Regions from separate parts of the Homo sapiens genome. Here region 1 is linked to region 2. Evidence: promoter capture Hi-C in 16 types of primary human blood cells and fetal thymus (Javierre and others, 2016). All regions are on one chromosome and are shown on one strand. The core of a region is centred on a gene start or on the middle of the fragment in contact, and the rest is flanking DNA. Distances in the headings are between cores, read along the strand shown.

What was found. The method cuts DNA at HindIII sites, captures the fragments that hold promoters and counts their contacts. A CHiCAGO score of 5 or more calls a contact.
Region 1: a fragment that was not itself captured here is called in contact with the fragment with the promoter of CCDC191 in region 2 in 1 of 17 cell types (neutrophils); the score reaches 5.9 in neutrophils.

The regions. Positions count from the first base shown.
Region 1 is chr3:113,005,334-113,010,299 of GRCh38, forward strand. RMP64 (ribonuclease MRP subunit p64) reads right to left here. Exons shown (of 9, transcript NM_015412.4): 8 at 2,838-3,097; 9 at 1-671. The coding sequence ends at 203. Among named protein-coding and RNA genes, the nearest start is that of NEPRO-AS1, 12 kb to the right of the region's middle. The HindIII fragment of the contact is 574 bases long and covers 3,376-3,949 here.
Region 2 is chr3:114,053,019-114,058,037 of GRCh38, forward strand. CCDC191 (coiled-coil domain containing 191) reads right to left here and starts at 3,508. Exons shown (of 17, transcript NM_020817.2): 1 at 3,359-3,508; 2 at 579-617. The coding sequence starts at 3,448. QTRT2 (queuine tRNA-ribosyltransferase accessory subunit 2) reads left to right here and starts at 3,719. Exons shown (of 10, transcript NM_024638.4): 1 at 3,719-3,846; 2 at 3,981-4,088. RefSeq lists an enhancer at 3,250-3,659. The HindIII fragment of the contact is 7,070 bases long and covers 2,613-5,019 here.

The DNA.
Region 1 (4,966 bases), core at 2,413-4,912, 1.0 Mb before region 2:
GAAGCCAAAAAAGAAATACTTGTTGATGAAATGACACAATGCTACTTTAAATGTAGACTGAACTGAAATGAACTCCTGTGCAATGCTGCACTAAAGCAGCTCCTCTGTGAGTCCAGGTGGTACTTCCAGATCTTAGCAGTTCTACTTAGAACACTGAACTAGCCTTGTTAATCACTTAAAAGTCTCACATATGAACGAACATCTAAACTCCCATTAAAGCAAAAATATCATCAATGTCATCTGTCTCCTTAATGGTTCCTGATGTACTGTTTTTATTTATTTGCATCACCGTCCACGAATCAGTTTCATTTTCATGGATGCCTCTAAGATTTTCATGAATCATTTTCTCCTTAGTTTGTATGACAGGCATTGAAACTCCACTATTCAAGAGCTGCTTACTGTTAGGGTAGAGATCAGTTCTATGCACAGTACAGTGTGAGAGTCTCCACTTAGCACTGGTATCTGTAGCACTCTTCCGAGTCCCTTGAGAGAACTGCTGAATTTCCCTTAAAAGAGTCGACTGCAACTTTCTCTGTGGTTTCCTTTGTCTCCGTAAAAATTTATTCTGTGATCTTCTCTGTCTCAGATGATGCTTTGAAGTTTTGATACCTGAGCCACGAAGAAGGTGGTTGCAAATAGACGTTTTTATGCACTCTAGTTTCTTTGGCAAACTTTAAAAGACAGAGAGAGGAAAAATCTGGGCTTAAGATGAGAAAAACATTCTCAAGCACTTTTAATTTACCAACTGAAAAGAAAAATACACAACTTATCTACAAGTCCTATGCCTGTGTACAATCCCAGAACCACATCGAAAAATTTCACCCCAAGTCTGTTTTTTGAGAGCACAAATGCCCTCTGATTGAAGTGTAGACGAATGTGTCCCCATTTTGCTTTCAAACTCTCAAAAGTACAGCCGCCTAGCAATTAGCTGAATGGCGAGATACCCTATACTTTAGTGTCAGAGCTTTTCCCTCATAACTGCTAATCTGTTCATAATGTAATGAGTGGACATGAGGAAACATCACAAATGAAAAAATCTGCCAGTACGTATTAATCCGAATCTGGATAATCAGCTTCATGCTGTGGCAGGAAATGAACAAGGAAAAAGGAATAAAGGCTAAGAGGGGTTTATAAAACAATATGAAGACAGGGCTTCTGGCCCAGATACACAGACAGCCTTAAGCTACCCTAATTATGATTCATATGTCATCTTCAAGTTTGGAAATTCAGAAATCAAACAGCTGATCATTTTAGGTGTTTTGCTTCCACACACGGTACACTGCCACAAGGTTCATCAGTGCCTTGCTGAATTGTTTCACTGTTTGTGATAGATTTTAAAAGACGGGCATGGATATAAAACTTTGAGGAAGCCCATTATAATAAAGTAAATCATGATCTTTGCTTCCATACCATTTTCTTATCTCACTATAAGCAGTGGCTTTTAAGTGGGGAGAAGGTGGGTGTACTTCAGAGTTGAAAGGAAAACAGAGGGCCTGAACTGAGTTCCACATCTAACCCCTTGAGCAAAATCCTCCATTTACCCATCTATGAAATGGGAATAATACTGTCTACCTCACAATGTTATTATGGACATTAAATAAATTATAAAGTTTACTACAAATATATTAATGAAACAGCAAAACAGGGCAATCTATGAAGGAGCACTATATCTGGGGGAGTACTGAGTAATGGTTTAACCAATAAACACCAGTTTGCTACCCTTCTCATTAACTTTTAGTTGTTACCTCTGCCTCATCTACCCTTGATTTTAAACCCAATTTTAAACAGAATGCTTCTCTCCATCTCAGGCTGCGTCTCCAGCCATAGGATACATCACTTTTAGATTATTACAGACCTTTAGAGGAGCCATCTCAATGTAAAAACCCCTCAAGCACTTTATCCCTCAGGAATATTCAACCACTTTCCCCATAGCTTTTAATCAAAATGTGTTACAAAACCCTCACTGTATACTTTTTTTTTTCTAAAACAGGAATATATTTTATGCAAATTTTAAAAGAAAATTTAACAAATTTTCAATACGTGGTTCATCCCCAGGAATGAACTTTAAATCCCTGAATAGCTCTAAACTATGGATAAGAAATTATGGGGCATGCACAGGATATTTGTTAAAGAATACAATAAAAAACAGGTCAGAATAATTGCCTCTGTGAAGGTGGAATAGGCTCTTAATACATATTTGTGTCTGAAATCATTACCGTTAAGCCCTGAAGTGTCTAATGTCTAAATTCATGTAATACTTCATGCAATACTGGTTCACAAGCAAAGATAAGCACCCTTAAACAGTTGTGAATATAAAAATCACAGAAAAGAAATATAGATAGAGTCCAGCTGCTACAAACAGTAGCAAGTAGCAACAGTACAACACCCCAGCAGTCTTGTGTGGGCCTCATGGAAGGCAGGCACCTTCTGCTTCTGCTCTCATGCCCTTATCCCACTGCACTGCACTGAAGCTGTCTGCAGAAGGGCTGCCTTTCCCAGAAGACCCTGAGCTCCCTGAAGACCAAGTCACGTCTTTATGCAGTTGTATCCTCAGGCTCAGCACACTAGACACTCTTAATGGTTCCTGAATGAGCTGATGGAAATGATGAAGAGCATAACGGGGACTGAAGTCCAATTAACTTGTTTATCTTCTTCCTCCAATGATACAGCTTTGCTCTTACAATAAAAGCAGCAAATGCAATTGCAGTTTGAGTACATCCCAATTTAGCCCCGCTGCGGCTGCTGGACATCACATTTTAAAGAAAAGTGACCTGAATACTTTTACTCATAACAACAACAGAAAAAGTAAAGTAACATAATTTTTGCAATATACCTACCTAGTACCTTGAGCTTCCAGATGTTTAAGCCGGTTGCTTTTAAGAAGTTTGTTACCCAGAAAAATGGCCTGAGCCTTGAGTTTTTTGCTCCTGCACCATACAACTGCCATCTGGATTTCTTCAGAAAGTTGTGTGAAGGACTCAGCCTCTCGGAATCTTTGCACAAAACTTTTGGCATGAGGAGTTCCTATCACTTTCTGAGAAGAATACTTGGTTGTCTTTAGTCTGGATTGAGAACATTTAAAATCAAAACTGGTCTCCTGAAACGTGGAAAGATGAGAAAAATATATTGGACATGTTACTGACTTGTAATTATATGACAACAAGGAAAGCTAGCTCACAATCAAAATTTAAAAATTAGAATTATCAGTCCCTAAATGCTTGAAGTGATGGATACCCCATTTACCCTGTGGTTATTATGCACTATATGCTTATAACAAAATACGTACCCCATAAATATATATACCTGCTACGTACCCACAAAACCTAAAAATTAAAAAAAAAAAATCAGTCTGTAAGGAAATTTTTTTGCTCACTAAGCTTTCCTTATGTCTTTAAAAACTGAATTTTTCTCCACTGCTCCAAATACAAGTTGTTTTGTTCCCCCTCTGTACCAGGACAGGTCCCATCTGCAGCTGAATTAGATTGACATAGGAAAGTTAACATAAATATCCTAACACACATATCTCACATACACAATAAAAAAACCCCACATGATTAAATACTGGTCAAAGCCTAATTGCAGAGGGTTGGGGGATCACTGAAAGGCCCCTCTTCGCTACACCACCAGATTATCACGACTTGTTTTTCACTTATTTCCGTATCCTGGGCAAACCTCCTCAATTTAGAAATGTTTCTGAAAACAGGGAAGATATGGGGCCCTGCAGAGTGCCCAGCAGAATAAGCCCATTAATCAGTTAATGCCTGCTGAATATCTATTAAAAATGCTCAATTGAGCAACACTTCCAATTCTACTTCAACCATCTTCTGACAAGGCACCTTTACTTCTTCAACCCCTTCTTTCTATATCAAGTCACATTTGGATTTTACTAACGTTTACTATTTCTTTATGAAAATATGCTGCCTACGAGATGATCTGCTCTTTCATTCAAAGCTTACCTTCTTCCAAATTTCTTACACTCAAAAGGAACTTTAAAAAAAAGTAGAAAATATAAAAGTAATGACCCAGGTCAATAGTTTATGTTTGGTGATCAATAGAAGTAGTTTGCTTTAAAGCTAAGCAAGTTAGTGCTATTTGCTAAAAATATAGTAGCAGTTAGTTTTGAGTAAGAGGGATGCTGACCCACCAACTTCAAAGCCAGCTCACCTACAAACAGGTGCACAGGCTGCAGAAGTTTCAAGGTTCACAAAGCACCATAGTTCTTGAGATACAGTTGAAAAACTGTTCTGGGGACTGGTGAATAGTAAAGAAGAAAGACTATGAAACCATACTGCCTGCATTCAAATCGCAGCTCTACCATTTATTCACTATGTGGCCTGGCAGTTTCTTGGCCTTTCTATGCCTCAGTTTCCTCATCTGAAATATGAAAACAGTAATAAGCATGCCCACCTCACAGAGCTTTTGTGATATAATTACATGACTTCATGCATATAAAAGCACTTAGAACAATGCCTGGCACAGAAAGTATTACTCCTCACTCTGAATTCATAAATTGGACAGAACATCAATGGAAGCTGGAGTCCTTAAGTTCAAGAAAATATGTTTAAGAATTCTTAAATAAAAGAAGTAAACTAACCCATGAAAAATACCAGAAGTAGACATTTTGCAAAGACAGGGTTAAAAAAAAAAAAAAGTCAAGTTACTGAGTAAAACAGTAATGCCGATGTACTTATATGCTGTTAGGTCCAGAACAAACAGAATTTACAGACATTAATCAATCATGTTAAAACTTGAACCTCAACAGGAGTAAAGGAATAGCTTCATGACAAAATGATGAGGATGATGACCAAAATGACCGTAGCTAATAACATCTAACTCCAATTAAATGCTTACCATACTCCAGACTACCGAACGCTTTACATGCATTAAAACTAGCACAACCCTATGAGGCACATATTACTATTACAAAATAGAGGTACGGAGAGATCAGGAAACTCACAGAAGGTCA
Region 2 (5,019 bases), core at 2,258-4,757:
TCAGGCCTGGAAGAGATGTCAGAGGTTATCTAACACAATCTCCCCTTCACTGAATCCTCAAACATATTGTTCATTAGCCTAACATTAAGTGACCAGTTAGAGTCCATTAAAATAGCTTCAGTGGTAGAAAACACATCTCTATAAGAACACCCAGTCCACTTTTGGATGGACTAGTCATTAGAAAATTCTTATTTGTGATGCACACGTAGTTTTCACCCATTAGTCCCTAGGTCATTGTAACTACAGTGCAGTCTTTCCAACATCTGAGGAAGGCCACCATATCCTCTCCCAAGGCTTCTTTTCACAACTCCTTTAATCCTCTTCATGTGATACTCATGGCATTTGAAACGAAGTCTACACACCTGTTTTCTTGTCATTCCTACTTAAATGGTATCATGAGAGGCAACAGAATTATGAAAAAAAATACTAAAAAGTATAAAATTAAGGCAACTTACATAGTCACACGGGAATAAAAATAGCAGAGTATGTGCAAAGTGGAGATCTATTCATATTTCTTTTCCATCTGATTATGCTTGACTCTTAATACTCTTTTTATTCTAAATTTGAAATATCCTTACCTTTATCCAGTGTTCCACACTGTCAGGACCAAAAGTAGGCTGTAGATAACATATATATGATATCAATACGCAGCAATATCTTTATCAACTTTGCCATTTAAATCTATCCTTCTGACTAAAGCATATGGAACAGTGTCCTTTATTATTTCCCCAAAGCATTTCATTAGAAAGTTCAGCATGATTAGCAATAAAAGACACAGAATAGCAGTATGAGGAGAAAACATGAAGCCTTCCTGGGACACTGATTGTTTTTATTTCTTGTCTAGGTCCACCTTGATATTGTGATTTAATTGGTCTGGGATAGGACCCTGGCACTGCTATTTTTTTAAACCTCCTTAGGGTTAAGAGTCAAGATATAGAAATGCTAAATATAAAGCTACTCATTAAAAAAAAAAAGCACTGATTAATTAGCCAGATTATCCAAGTAATCTTTAGCTTAAAGAAGGGTGTGTTCCTCTCCTTACTCCTTTCATAAGTAGCCTGTAGCAAGAGGCTTTCTCATCTTACCCAGATCAGGGATCTTGTTTGGCCCAATAAAAACTGAAGGTTAAAAAATCTGACTTCTACTGTTTTACAAAGCAGAAAATATAAATTTCCACCCAGATCAGTCAGGTATTAATCTGAAATTAGAAGTAAAACCATCAGGGCATTTCCTTTCTTCACTCTCTGTAACTCCTAGAAGCTTGGAGAATTCCCTCTAATAGTCACTTAACAAATAGAGTTATCTTCTTTGCCAAAAATGCAGGTGTGTTTTGGCCGGGAGCAGTGGCTCATGCCTGTAATCCCAGCACTTTGGGAGGCCAAGGCGGGCAGATCACAAGGTCAAGAGATCAAGACCATCCTGGCTAATACGGTGAAACCCCGTCTCTACTAAAAAAAAAATACAAAAAATTAACCAGGCGTGGTGGCGGGTGCCTGTAGTCCCAGCTACTCAGGAGGCTGAGGCAGGAGAATGGCGTGAACCCGAGAGGCGGAGCTTGCAGTGAGCCGAGATTGCACCACTGCGCTCCAGCCTGGGCGACAGAGCGAGACTCTGTCTCAAAAACAAACAAACAAACAAACAACAACAACAACAAAAACTGGGGAATGGGGCGAGGGTTAATCAATCTGACTTTTACTGTTTTACAAAGCAGAAAATATAAATTTCCACCCAGATCAGTCAGGTATTAATCTGAAATTAGAAGTAAAACTATCAGGACATTTCCTTTCTTCAACCTCTGAAACTCCCAGAAGCTTGCAGAATTCCCTCTAATAGTCACTTAACAAATAGAGTTATCTTCTTCACTAAAAATTCAGGTGTGTTTTTAAAATAAGGGGATATCCTGATGATTTGTCATTGGAGCACTAAATCTCTTTTGGTTTGGCGTTCCCAGTTCATGAATTGCTTCTTACTCAAATATACTCTTTAAAATAATAATAATAATAATAATAATAAAATAAGGGGATATCTAAACTAGCATACTGACACATGGAGGTGGGAAAAATATAATACTCTTTCACTTACCTAACACTTTACCTTCAAAGCATCTTACTGATAACTAACGCAGCTGTACTGCTTAATAATTTTGTCACTGCAACAAAGAAAGAGCTGATCTAATTAAAATACAACTGAACTTGAAGAAGCCCTATGTTTTTACCTTTTTTTCTCTAGGCAGTAATAATGAGCACTAGCAGCAAAAATCCTTCCTTTTGGAGTCCTAAGAAATTATTCTAAATTTTTACCTTTCATCATCAAGTCCATATCTATATCCTATCTTGGATCCAATACATTATGCAACTGATGTATTGAAATAGCAGCAGCCTCAGTTTCCAAGTCTCCCTGATGCTTCAGTCTGTGCCCTCTAGTATCTAGGGCAACATATTTGTCATGTGGAATATGTCCAATGCATTTAGCTGGTAAATTTAGAATAAATCGCAAGAACAATCGCCTGGGGCCCTCAAAAAGGCCACATACATCTACAGAATATTATTTAGGAAAGTATAACTTAAGGGTGAAAACAGCTGGTGAAACTGCTCTGTAGCTGAAAGCTGAGAAGCTTCTCCATTTTAGTACTCTCATTTAGATTTTAAGCATCTTTTTGGGGACTGTTAAAAAGGTAGTCTGTGGAAAGCACACGGTGCAACTGTGACTTTGCACATGTCACATATGTTTCAAGTTTAAAATGGGGTTATTATTTTTTTCTTATCTTCAGGTGCTAATGCATCCAAATGGGTGATAGATACGGAGAGAATCTATTTTTTGAAAGTTGGTTGAATTTAGAAATTACTATGTGAATCAAGTATTAATGTATTCAATATCCATTTGCACTCCTGAGTTTATTTAGATACTTTACGTAAAAGTGAAGGGGCAGGAATATAGGCAGGGTATTTAATGTGAAGCTCTCTCCCGTTAATAAAGATCAATTACCCCAAGATTTGCAAAAAAAAAAAAAGAGAGAGAAAAAGAAAGAAATGTGCGAGAAGTTTCCTAAAATTTAAGGTAGGGGGAACGGAGTTTGCAAACTCCTTTCACCCCGATGGGCATTAGCAGACACCTCCGGTTTTAGAAAAGCGTTACAAACAGTTCTTCCACGATGCTGCCCACCAAAGCCGTAATGTGCCCAGACCCCAGAGCTCCTAGAGCATTTCACTCAGGGTAATGCTGGCTTTGGGGCGGTCAAGGCAGGGGCGTGTCAGCTCAGGATGAAGAGGCAGGAAGCACAGACGGGCCGCGACTGGCTTCCTGACTGCGCCGCGCCTTGGGAAAGTCCCCGCCCTCCAAAGCTCTCGATTGGGATCACCTTGGGACTCGGCTTCCTTGTGAACCGTTTCCAGCGATTCAGCCCCATCCTTTTCTTTGAGAAGGACCTTCCCTGAGGCGCCAGGAGCATTTTCCAAGTTCGAGCCCGAACCTCGGCCAAAGCTGCAGCAACCGCCCTTCTGCCCGGGCTGCCTCCGGGTCACGCTGGGAATTGTAGTTCCTCCGCCCGCAAGGAAAGCAGGCATAGGACACCGTCGAACCACCACTCCCACGAGGCTCTGCGCAGGCCGCTCGCGTTGGCTCAGTTACCATAGCAACGGCAGAGGTCCCTCGCTCTTGCCGTCATCAAGGCTCGCTTGAATGTCGGCTTTGCTTTTTTTCTGGCGCCCAGTGATGACGCAGTACTCCCTGATTGGCTCTGCACTGGAGGCAGTGATTTTGGGGCAGAGAATTTTGCAACACGTGGTAGTGAACTGTGAGGAGTTTGAGGGGTCTGAAGACTGAAAGAGTCGAATGGTTTGTTGGCAGGTAAGTGCCCCTTTGCCCTGCTGGTGTGGGAGCTGCTAGAGATGGATGAGTCACGTCGCGTCCAGACGCTTCCTGGTTGTGTTGCAGTAACGGTGATTGTACTCCCGCCATGTCTCCTCTGCTTCCCTTTTCAGGGTGTCCTGGTGGATTGGTTTCTGTAAGTTCAGATTCTCATAAATCGTGTGAGCGTCGCCGACACCTCTGAGATAAAAGGGCCCCTTTCGACTAGCCTCTGCTGAAAGGTAGAGTTTTCAGGAAGTTTTTATTCCGAACTGCCCATGGGAGGGTGGGACCGTCTTCAATCTCTGAGCCAGGTGCCTAGGGAGGTCTGGGGCCATGGAGATGGCCCATGGAGCAAAGATAAATCCAGGCTTATTGGCTTAGCCGAGGTGTTTCCAGAGACAGCCCATTTAGGGGTGATAAATGGGCTTATAAAGCAGAGTAAAGATTTAGAACAGGAGTTTTGAATTCAACTACTTTGTGGCTATATGACCCTAGGCAACTTGTTTAATAACTCAGAGACCCTGTTTTCTCATGCAAAATGGGGACGATAATACCTGAATCACTGGAGTGTTGTAATGATTAAAAATAAATGTATGTGAAGCATTCTGCCAGGAAATGTAAACTAAAGTTGATTTGAAATTGGTGAAAATGAAGTTAGGGAAGCTATGCCCTCGGACTGTTGCAGCGATCCTAGGACCAGCTCTGTAACTGGTCTGTCTGAAAGGCGGTTGAATAAATTGTGCTCATACAAACTATGCAGTACCACGAAGTAGTTTTTTTCAAAAGGGTAAGTTAGCTTTATGTCTCTTCTTCAGGAAAGACGTCTAATGTTTATTCTTGAGAGAAAAGCAAATTGCAGAGAAGTGCATATATTATAGTATAATATGTTTCCATTTTTGTAAAAGCAAACCCTGACCAAAACACTCCCTCCCATATGCAAGTATGTTTAAATATTTGTATGAGAATGGAGAAAGATTGCAGAGACTGGGAGGATGGATTAGAGGCGGGAGGGAGAAAGGGAAAAGAAGAAGAACACTATAGCAAAATGGAAACTAAGATTATAATGTGCTTGTGTACCAGATGGAACTTCTAATAAGCTCCCAGCCTATTAGAGTACAGCGCTGAAAACTAGACTTCAATAATTAAAGTCCTTGCTCTGCCACTTACCAG